Linked DNA regions of Homo sapiens: region 2 is linked to region 1. The links are contacts of gene promoters, found by promoter capture Hi-C in blood cells and fetal thymus (Javierre and others, 2016). All regions are on one chromosome and are shown on one strand. The core of a region is centred on a gene start or on the middle of the fragment in contact, and the rest is flanking DNA. Distances in the headings are between cores, read along the strand shown.

Region 1 (5,006 bases), core at 2,287-4,786:
CCTCATGTCCCTCTTGTGGGTCTAAGCGACTGCAGATGAAAAATATTCTCTCTAGGTTCTAGAGAGCTGGGCTTGGGAGGAGAGGTAGTTTTCCTGGAAATCCAACTCCATCTTTTAGAGACAATGAGAATTTACGGCTAGGATTCTGTTAAAGCCATATGGTGTCTGGGTGCTCCAAAACCTTTGCAAGGATAATGACTTTCTGGGGGCCATACAATGAACAAGAATACTATCAATGGAAAAACACATTCCACGTATGAAATTACCAATTTACAAACATTTGGAATGTGATCCTTCTGTACATTTGGGACTGCCTCCATGTGACCAAGCAGCAAAAACAAACGGGGACATTTGTAGGACTCGACTTTTCATGCTCACAGTGGAGACCTGGCCGAGTTATTTACATTTCAGCAAACTGATGCCCAGGAACAAAATTAAAATGGAGCTTAACACGTCACACCTTGGTGACACGATAAAATTTTTTGTATCAAATTAAAAAAAAAATCAACTTACATTCCTATTCCTCAACTACATGCTACATTTACGGAAATTTTAGCCAGTTTTATCTCATAAAAGTACAGATGACTGATAACCTCCCCCGCCCCAAGAAAAGTTTTCAAAAAGTATTTAAGGAGAGGTATCAGTTTAAAACAGGAACATAAACCCAGCATGGTGCCTCATGCCTGTAATCCCAACACTTTGGGAGGCTGACGCAGGAAGATTACTTGAGGATAGGAGCTTGAGGCCAGCCTGGGCAACATAGCAAGACGTCATCTCTATTAAAAATTTTAAAAAATATATAATAAGCCAAGTGGGGTGGCACACACCTGTAATCCCAGCTACACAGAAGGGTGAGGTGGAAGGACTGCCTGAGCCCAGGAGTTCACGACTGTAGTGAGCTATGACTGCACCACTGCACTTCTGCCTGGGCAACGCGGTGAGACCCTGCCTCAAAAAATTATAAAACAGGAACAGACAGGAAGTTCACTTGGCACATGTTGGGTTTAAAGTAGAGATTGCAAGTGGTTCTGGAGAAGTCTGCATGTGCAACTACAGGGAAGTAACAGGGAAAGAGGTGGGTGAAAATCCGTCTCTGAAATGATTGGCAGATTTGTCATCCTAAGAAAATCTGGCAGAAAAATTAAACACAACTTTTAAGATATTCTAAGACTACAAAGGGCAGATCTTATTATATTCACAATGCATATCAACCTCAGAAACCTCTTCAGCATTTGCTAAGTATGCCCACGTGTGACAGTGGCCAGAAAAACGTAAAGATACAAAGGCCATTCCTACTAGACCAAGAGGCCGTGTTCCACCTGGAGATGAAGTTCGTGAACACAGGTTCAAGACACTGCCATGACTAACCTAATGCAAAAGTAAGGGTCCCATCAATCAGCCAAAGTATCAGTCTGCCCTTGAAGCCACCTTAATCTTAACTGTGAAGAAAACAAACTTCAATTTGTTAACAAGACCAAGACTTCAACCACACTAGGCCAGCTGGGTTAATTTCTTATTGTATTTATTTATTTATTTTTGAGACAGGGCCTTGCTCTGTCGCCCAGACTAGAGTGCAACTCGACTCGATCACAACTCACTGCAACCTCGACCTGCGGGGCTAACGTTATCCTACCACCTCAGCCTCCCTTAACTGGGAGGACAGGAGTGTGCCACCGCGCCCGGCTCTAATTTTCATATTTTTTGTAGAGACGGGGTTTCGCCATGTTGCTGAAGCTGGCCTCCAACTCCTGGACTCAAGTGACCCGCCCACCTCGGCCTTCCAAAGTGCTGGATTCCGGGCATGAGCCACCGCGCCCAGGCGAGTTAATTTCTTATTTTTGGTCACAGAAGCCATTATTCCAAAATGCCTTCCTCTAAATGTTGTTCTCAGCCTGACCTCGTTTAAGCTGCCACCATTTCTCTGTATCATACTAGTTACTGGAGTAACTATGTATCTTAGGGTAGCTAACTGGTCTTTAAACTAGTGTCACAAACTCTCCCTCCATCCACCCTTCCCCTTCCAAAAAAGGGAGCATAAAAAATATGGGCCTTTCCAAAGAGTTTCTATCGTGAGATCAGCCTCACCCTCCTTAGACTAATTTCTGCATGTTCTGAACACAGGGGTGCTAATAAAACTATCTCTGATGCATGGGAAAAATAAGAACCCCCCCCATAAACCCTACCACAAACTCCAAGTTCAGCCCAAAGTAGGCTCAACTTTGTTTCACTCTGAAAAGTAACTTGTAAAAGTAACTTGTAAAAGTAACAGTAACAGGGAGAAACTGTTGTCTGTTCAAAACTTTTCATCCTGCTTCCTTTTTACCAAAGTTTAAAAAAATAAACAAAAGCTGAATTTTCCATCATCCTAAACAGTCCAGAAAAGGATGGTCAGAAAATTCCTGAAATTCGAAGTTCCCCAGGCCCTGGACTGCTAGCAGTTGCGCGAGGTGAACAGCCCTCGATGGGACTGATGGGTTATACAATCATGGTTCCCAGAGCAAGATCCACTAGAATAATCCGCCCCGGAGACAATGACATCATGTGAGCAACCAGGCAGGAAGTTGGGCTCAGAGAAGTGAAGGGTCAAGTCTTGAAAGCTCACACTGGACGACACCCCCTGCCCCCAATCTAAAGAAGACAAAAGTCACCGCCTGCTAAAAATATATATATATATATATTCTTTAAAGAGAAAATGAGCCCACGGGGGGAAATCAATCAGCAAATGAAACCACAAACACTCAACTCCAGGACCATTCCTGCGGGCTCCAACGCCCCGGTGAGCCTCTCCACACCGAGGGGCCTCACCGGTGCCCCGCTGGCGAAACTCTGATGCAAACGCGCAGCGGGAACAAAGCAAACTGGAGTTCCTGCCTCCAACTTTCCCGGACGCCCGGCCGCGCGAGGGCAGGCGCCGACCCCAAGGGCCGGGGCGACCGCTCCGCACAAAGCCACCCCCGACTCAGCGACAGCCACAAGTGGCCGGACGCGGGGCTCCAGGACCGCCACGACCGCGTGTGCCCCCGCGCCCCCCGCCTGCGCACGGGACCCGGCGGGACTCGCGGACACCACGCAGGCAACTTTCCCTCGGGAACGGGGCGGACCCCGGCGCGGAACGGAGGCGACTTGGAGACCCCAGGAGCTCCTCGAGCGCTCCCCGCCCCCCACGCCGGCCGCTCACCCCGGGCACCGCGAGCGGAGCCTGCGTCCGGGCGGGCCACCCACCTGCACAGCTCGGGGAACGGGGCGGCCTGGGCCTGCGTGGACCCCGGGGCAGCGACGAGCAGCAGCAGCTGCAGCAGGAGCAGAGAGCGCTGCGGGCGGCGGGCGGGCGCGGGCCCCAGGTGGGGGCTCCGGCCGGCGGCGGCCCCCATCGCGCCGGGCCCGGACTGCGCGGCGGGCGCGAGGCTAACGGCGCGCGACTGCTGGGGGCCGCGCCCGGGACGGGGTCGCGCCGCCAGGGCAAAGGCGGAGGTGGAGACGGAGCGGGAGCCCGAGGTGAGCGCGGCTCGACTGGGCTCGGCGACAGCGACAGCGGCAGCGGCGGCCCCGGAACCGCGTCACGTGACAGCCGCCCGGCACCGCCCCCCCACCCCCGCCCCCCGCTCACGTGACTCCCTTGTTCAGGTGACCCCCGCCCGCCCCGGCTCCTCCCAGGCCCGGGTCACGTGAGCGCAGCGCGCGGGACAGGAAGCGGCGCGGGCGGGGCGCAGGCTCCAGGTGCCTCCCGGGGCCTGAGCCTCTCGGCGGGCTGGGCGCGGCGGGGGTGCCTAGCCGGGCCTCAGTTTCCCCTCCCACCGCGCCCTGCTGGATCGTGGCGGGTGCTTCCCAGGTTAGAGCAACTGTTCCCAACCTCGATCGACCAGTAGGGGAAAATAGGGAACTTGGATCAAAGTGCCAGGGAGGTAAATGCCTTCGCACAGCCTAGTGGCAGCGGATCCGTGGGGGGTGGGAACACACTTTAACTGCCCGTGGAGTCAAATCATGGGGGTTTACAACCTTGGCCCGTCAGAGCCTCTCAGACCTTCTGTGGGAATGTTATTTCCCAAGCGTGGGCTTCCTACAGCAAGGAAGGCAGCACAAATCCAGCAAGGTGAAAGAGTGGACAAAAGTGTCGCTGTCAAGCAAGTGCCACTCAACAAAGCTTTATTAATTCACTACGTGGATGGCCATGAGCTAGCCACAATGAAAGTAGAACGATGAATCTAAAAGTCTTGAACTAAAAAAATTCACTTTCTTTTAGAGTAAATATACAAAATAATCATGACTGAAAATAGTAATCATCATCATCATAAAAGCTCATCTTTTTTAGTGCTTATTCCATACCAGACACTGCTAAGCATGTAAGCATGAATCTTTAAAAACCTATGAGATGGGAACCTACTTATAGATGAGGAATTGAGGCACAAGGATACTCAGTGACTTACTCAAAGACACTCTGGGATGTGGCAAAGCTGGAATTCAAACACATATAAATAATCATGACCCAATAATAGCTAACATTTCTTGAGCAAGTAATTATGTACGAAGTACTGAAGTGTTCGGACACTGTGATTTAGCTCATTTAATCCTAACAGTCCTGTAAGAGGGGGTGCCTTTATTGCATCCGTTTTGCAGATAAGGAAAGTGAGGAATGGAGAAATTAAATAACTAGTTAGTCTTGCAGCTAGTAAGTGAAAAAGCCCGGGTTTGAGCCCAAGCCAGTCACAGGCCTGTGACATAACCACCGTGCTATTAATATATTGCCCAAGAAAAGAAAGTGTTGTAGTGGGTCAAAGGGAGAGCTCAGGTGTAAACTGTGGACGTCGAAAAAGGGTTTGTGGTGACCGGGCGCGGTGGCTCGCGACTGTAAACCCAGCACTTTGGGAGGCCAAGGCGGGCGGATCACAAGGTCAGGAGATCGAGACCATCCTGGCTAACACAGTGAAATCCCATCTCTACTAAAAATACAAAAAATTAACCGGGCGTGGTGGCACACGCCTGTAGTCCCAGCTACTCGGGAGGCTGAG
Region 2 (4,428 bases), core at 403-2,902, 950 kb after region 1:
ATTGAGCACAATAGCTGCTTTAAATTCCTTGACTAATAGTTTCAACATTTCGGTCATCTGAAATTGACCTCTTTTTATTAACTTCTTTGTTGCCAATACATCACATTTTCCTGGTCCTTCATATTTTGAGTAGTTTTGGACATGGTGGATGTTTCATAAGTCAAGACTCTAAATTCTGTTGTATTCATTCCAAGGCTGTTGATACTTTGTTTTAACAAGCAATTGACTTGGTTACACTGAAGGCTGTAAACTCCATGTCTCTCATGGTGAGTGGCCATTCAAATCTCAATTCAGTACTCCAAACCTTAGCTGCAAGTGGCTTTGAATCTGGTTTGTGTGCATGTGGTTCACGGGTCAGCTAGAGACTTGGGCAGAGTTCAGATACAGCATTTGGGTGCCCCCTTCTCTGGCTCTGTCCTCTCTGGGATTTCTCCCTCACTCTCGTGGCCATGATTGCCCCAGGCTCCAGCCCCTGGTTCCCTAGACCAGAAACATGGCAGTCTTTCTATGGGAGTTTTAGCCACCCCCAGACACTTTGTGACCAGGGCCCATCTTTTGGACAAGGCTGAAAAACAGGAAACTCACACTCTCCTCCAAGATTCAACTCCCCTCTGCCTGCATTTGCTCACTTCCCAGGTCTCTTAAGTAGTTACTTTTGGTAGTTTGTCCAGTTTATAGTTGCTATATTTGTGGCAGGGTTGGTCTGTTAGGAGTCTACTCCACCATACCACAGGGTGTGTGTCTCCTTCACCACTGTATCTGCACCATTGAGTTCAGCGTCCTCACCACAATGAGCTGGTGTCCATGGCTCCCAATAGGCTTATTTCAAGGATAAAATTGATCATATCTAAGAAAAGTACTTTAGCATGTTAAATGTACTGTCAAATGTAAGGAGGCATTTAGATATGTGTAGAAACTGGTCAGCTTCCAAAAATGCAAATACATCCCAAATAAATGTTAAGAACAATATACTAAAGTCTTAAGAAACCAGAAACATGTTGGCCAGGCGCGGTGGCTCACGCCTTTAATCCCAGCACTTTGGGAGGCCAAGGCAGGTGGATCACGAGGTCAGGAGATCGAGACTATCCTGGCTAACACGGTGAAACCCCGTCTCTACTAAAAATACAAAAAAATTAGCCAGGCGTGGTGGCGGGCGCCTATAGTCCCAGCTACTAGGGAGGCTGAGCCAGGAAAATGGCGTGAACCCAGGAGGTGGAGCTTGCAGTGAGCCGAGATCGCGCCACTGCACTCTAGCCTGGGTGACAAAGCGAGACTCTGTCTCGAAAAAAAAAAAAAAAAAGAAACCAGAAACATTTCAAGCGGGGGCAACATTTCAAGCGGGGGCACCTCACTGTTAGGTGATGGGGCAACCATCTGGTCATTTCATTCATGATCCCAGTTATTTTCATCTGTAGCAAAAAGTTACAGGATTTTCATTGTTACTAGAAATGAGAAAAAGTATATATATATATATATATATATATATATATATACACACACACACACACACACACACACACATATATATCTGTGATTTCTGGCAAATGTATAGGTGGTATTACACTTGAATTATATCCATATCGTTCCTAAGAATAATTTTATATGCCAAGAGTTAAGATGCCTAAATTCTTTAAAAAGAACAGCAAACATCCACAGGCCTCGGAGCACATTGAGATGCATACAATCTAAATGTATTCCTTTCAGGATTTTGATTGTAAAAAAATTCAACAGCTCCCTCAAAGATAGAGATTATTTATTCAACAAACATTATGGCAGATTCAAGTAGCAAAACAGTCTGTAAATTTGGGCATGTAGACCCAAAAAAGATCCTCTCTCAAACTGCTAACCTGGTGTTGCTAAATGAAACAGTTCTTGCCGAAGAATTTTCACAGGTGTTCATTTGCATCCATGAAATTCCTCTCGTTACATCAGTTTTTAAACAGGTTGTTTGCATCAAGTTTCAAGAGTAATTTGTGAACATTGCTGTCTGACTATCCATCCCCATAGCAGAGATAGTAACTTCTTAAAATTTCCAGTTATTCCTAGAGATTAAAGAGTTGGAAAATAAAAAAGTAAAATTTAAATTACAATCTACTGGTCTAAGCCTATATCTTCAAATGGCCAGGCTTATAAAATGTCTTCTTATTTAATATCCTTGTCTCAGCTGTCTTCCCCACGCAATTTTTTTTAAACAGTCTCAATCTGGCACCTACTGCAGCCTCAACCTCCTGGGCTCAGGTAATTCTCCAATCTCAGCCTGCTGAGTAGCTGGGACTACAGGAGTCCACTACCAGGCCCGGCTACTTTTATTGTATTTTTTATACAGACAGGGTTTCGCCATGTTGCCTAGGCTGGTCTTGAACTCCTGGGCCCAAAGTGCTAGGATTACAGGCATGCGCCACCTCCTCATGCAATTTGAGCAGTATATACAGTTGGAAGCCTCACATTCCAAACCCCACCTTCATCATGTTTCCCAAAATTTTCAAATCCCACCCTTTCACCTGGTCTTTCAGACCTTCCCCTAGAGCAGTAGTACCCAGTACCCGGTTCGTGGCCCAGGCATCAGGGACCCCTGCCCTAGGTTACATCTATTTGTTCTTGGAGTCACTGCCACAGCCACTGTCATTATTCCCTGACGTGGCCCCTCACGGGCTTGTGCTGATGCATGCAAGCCAGCCCTCCATCACTGACCCCACATGCTGTTACTCTGGAGCAGCTCCCACACACATGCAAAGCTGATGTACACCTGGGACTTCGTTCATTCCAGTTCCCTACCTACAATGTCTACACAGTCCACACACCCTGCCACCGGACCTTCGCAGCCATGCAGACACCTCAGCTCAAGAATTACCTCTGACACCTAAAGAACTCACAGACCCCACCTCCCTCCCTTTCTCTTTTGTACCCCACATTTTAATATCTACCATTTTTTCCTGTTTCTCTCCTCCCAGTAGACTATAACTTCCTTAAGGGTGAGAAATGGGTCTCCTTTCTCTTTGTATTCTCCAGAACTAAAAAAACTTCCTGGCACATGTTAAACATTTCACTACATGTTTGTTGAATTAATAAAAGAATAAAGAAATAAATGAACTTCTACTCTTTAATTCAACCAAGAAAATATAACAGTGGTCCCCTACATGTAATTTATCACTTACTCCTCAGCTTTATATAAAACTTTCTCCAAACTAGAATCACTCAACTTCTTTCCACCACTTCCTTCGAAATGCACCAACTTCAAATGCTCCATAATTTAACCCTTCCCCTTTGATCCTTCTTTTCTGCCATATTCCAGATTCCACACTCCTCAGGAGCAGGCTTAAGGCCTTATCTTTCTCATATTTTAAGTGTTTGCTTAGTTCCTTTTTGTGCCAGGTACTTACTATAACTAGATGGGAAAAGGTTTTTTGATTGTTTTCTTGTTTTTAATTTATCATGTAATTTTCACAACTTCACAAGATGAATATTAATACGCATGATTTAATAGATGAGAAGACTAAGTAACTTGCCCAAGGTCACACAGCTAATGAAAGATGGAGCTGACATTTTAACATAAGGCTACTGTATTCTGAAGACATGCTCTTTTCTTTTTCTCCATCCCAGCATAGGGGAAAGGGGACAAATATTCTAGGCTGGATACTTAGTTTATGTTCTTTCTGTAACAGATCTGTTATATTTTAAAACAGGAAATATTTTTTAAACCACAGAATAAGTTCAGCAAAATAAGTGAAGCTTATCTTTGATCAGAGATAAAGGCAAAGAAACCCCTGGCTTCAAATTAAAACCCCATATATGCAAATGTAATTTTATGACCCAAGACTATTTTTTCCTGAGTTTTTTAACTTTAAAACACCAAAGCACAGTGGCTACAGAAGGAAGGTACTTAAGGAGCTGCACCAAGGAATGAAATCGTATTATCACAGGCCTTAATACAACAGGCCAAATTCATTTCGAAAAAATGTATTCAAGTCTTAGACCCTGTGAAAAAACAACTCTTATTTTCAAGAATAGAAACAGCTAGGGGTTTTTTACATCTTCTTACAAGAAATTTCCATCCATTGGCTTTAAATTTTACTTTTCATTCAAAAGCACAGCATGTTTTTATATTGAAAACTTCCTAGGAAAATGAGAGCCATTTTCTCACACTCTGAATCATGGTTTTGCTCTGACTAGGTAAATAGCATGCACCCTCAAACTCTTGCTAGAGAGAGTCACTGAAACCTTTTAGGTTAAAAGGAAATGATTGGTAAATAGCTTTTCTCAATCTGAGTTCTTCTGTAGGAAATGGAAAAACAGAGAACCTACAATTCTAAATAGTAGCATCAGACTCAAATAACAACTTTGTGGGAAAACAAGGATCGATTTGAAAGCTGGGCTCCTTCAGGTCAGACTCAGATTTTGAGGGGCTCTGTGTTTTTATAATTTTGGAGG

The links. The method cuts DNA at HindIII sites, captures the fragments that hold promoters and counts their contacts. A CHiCAGO score of 5 or more calls a contact.
Region 2: a fragment that was not itself captured here is called in contact with the fragment with the promoter of IGF2R in region 1 in 1 of 17 cell types (neutrophils); the score reaches 7.2 in neutrophils.

Annotation. Positions count from the first base shown.
Region 1 is chr6:159,967,612-159,972,617 of GRCh38, reverse strand. It overlaps IGF2R (insulin like growth factor 2 receptor), which reads right to left and starts at 3,536. Exons shown (of 48, transcript NM_000876.4): 1 at 3,223-3,536. The coding sequence starts at 3,371. RefSeq lists silencers at 2,916-3,045, 3,066-3,345, 3,356-3,975. The HindIII fragment of the contact is 4,184 bases long and covers 1-4,143 here.
Region 2 is chr6:159,017,699-159,022,126 of GRCh38, reverse strand. All of the region lies in intron 1 of TAGAP-AS1 (TAGAP antisense RNA 1), which reads right to left. Among named protein-coding and RNA genes, the nearest start is that of RSPH3, 20 kb to the right of the region's middle. The HindIII fragment of the contact is 4,159 bases long and covers 1-3,731 here.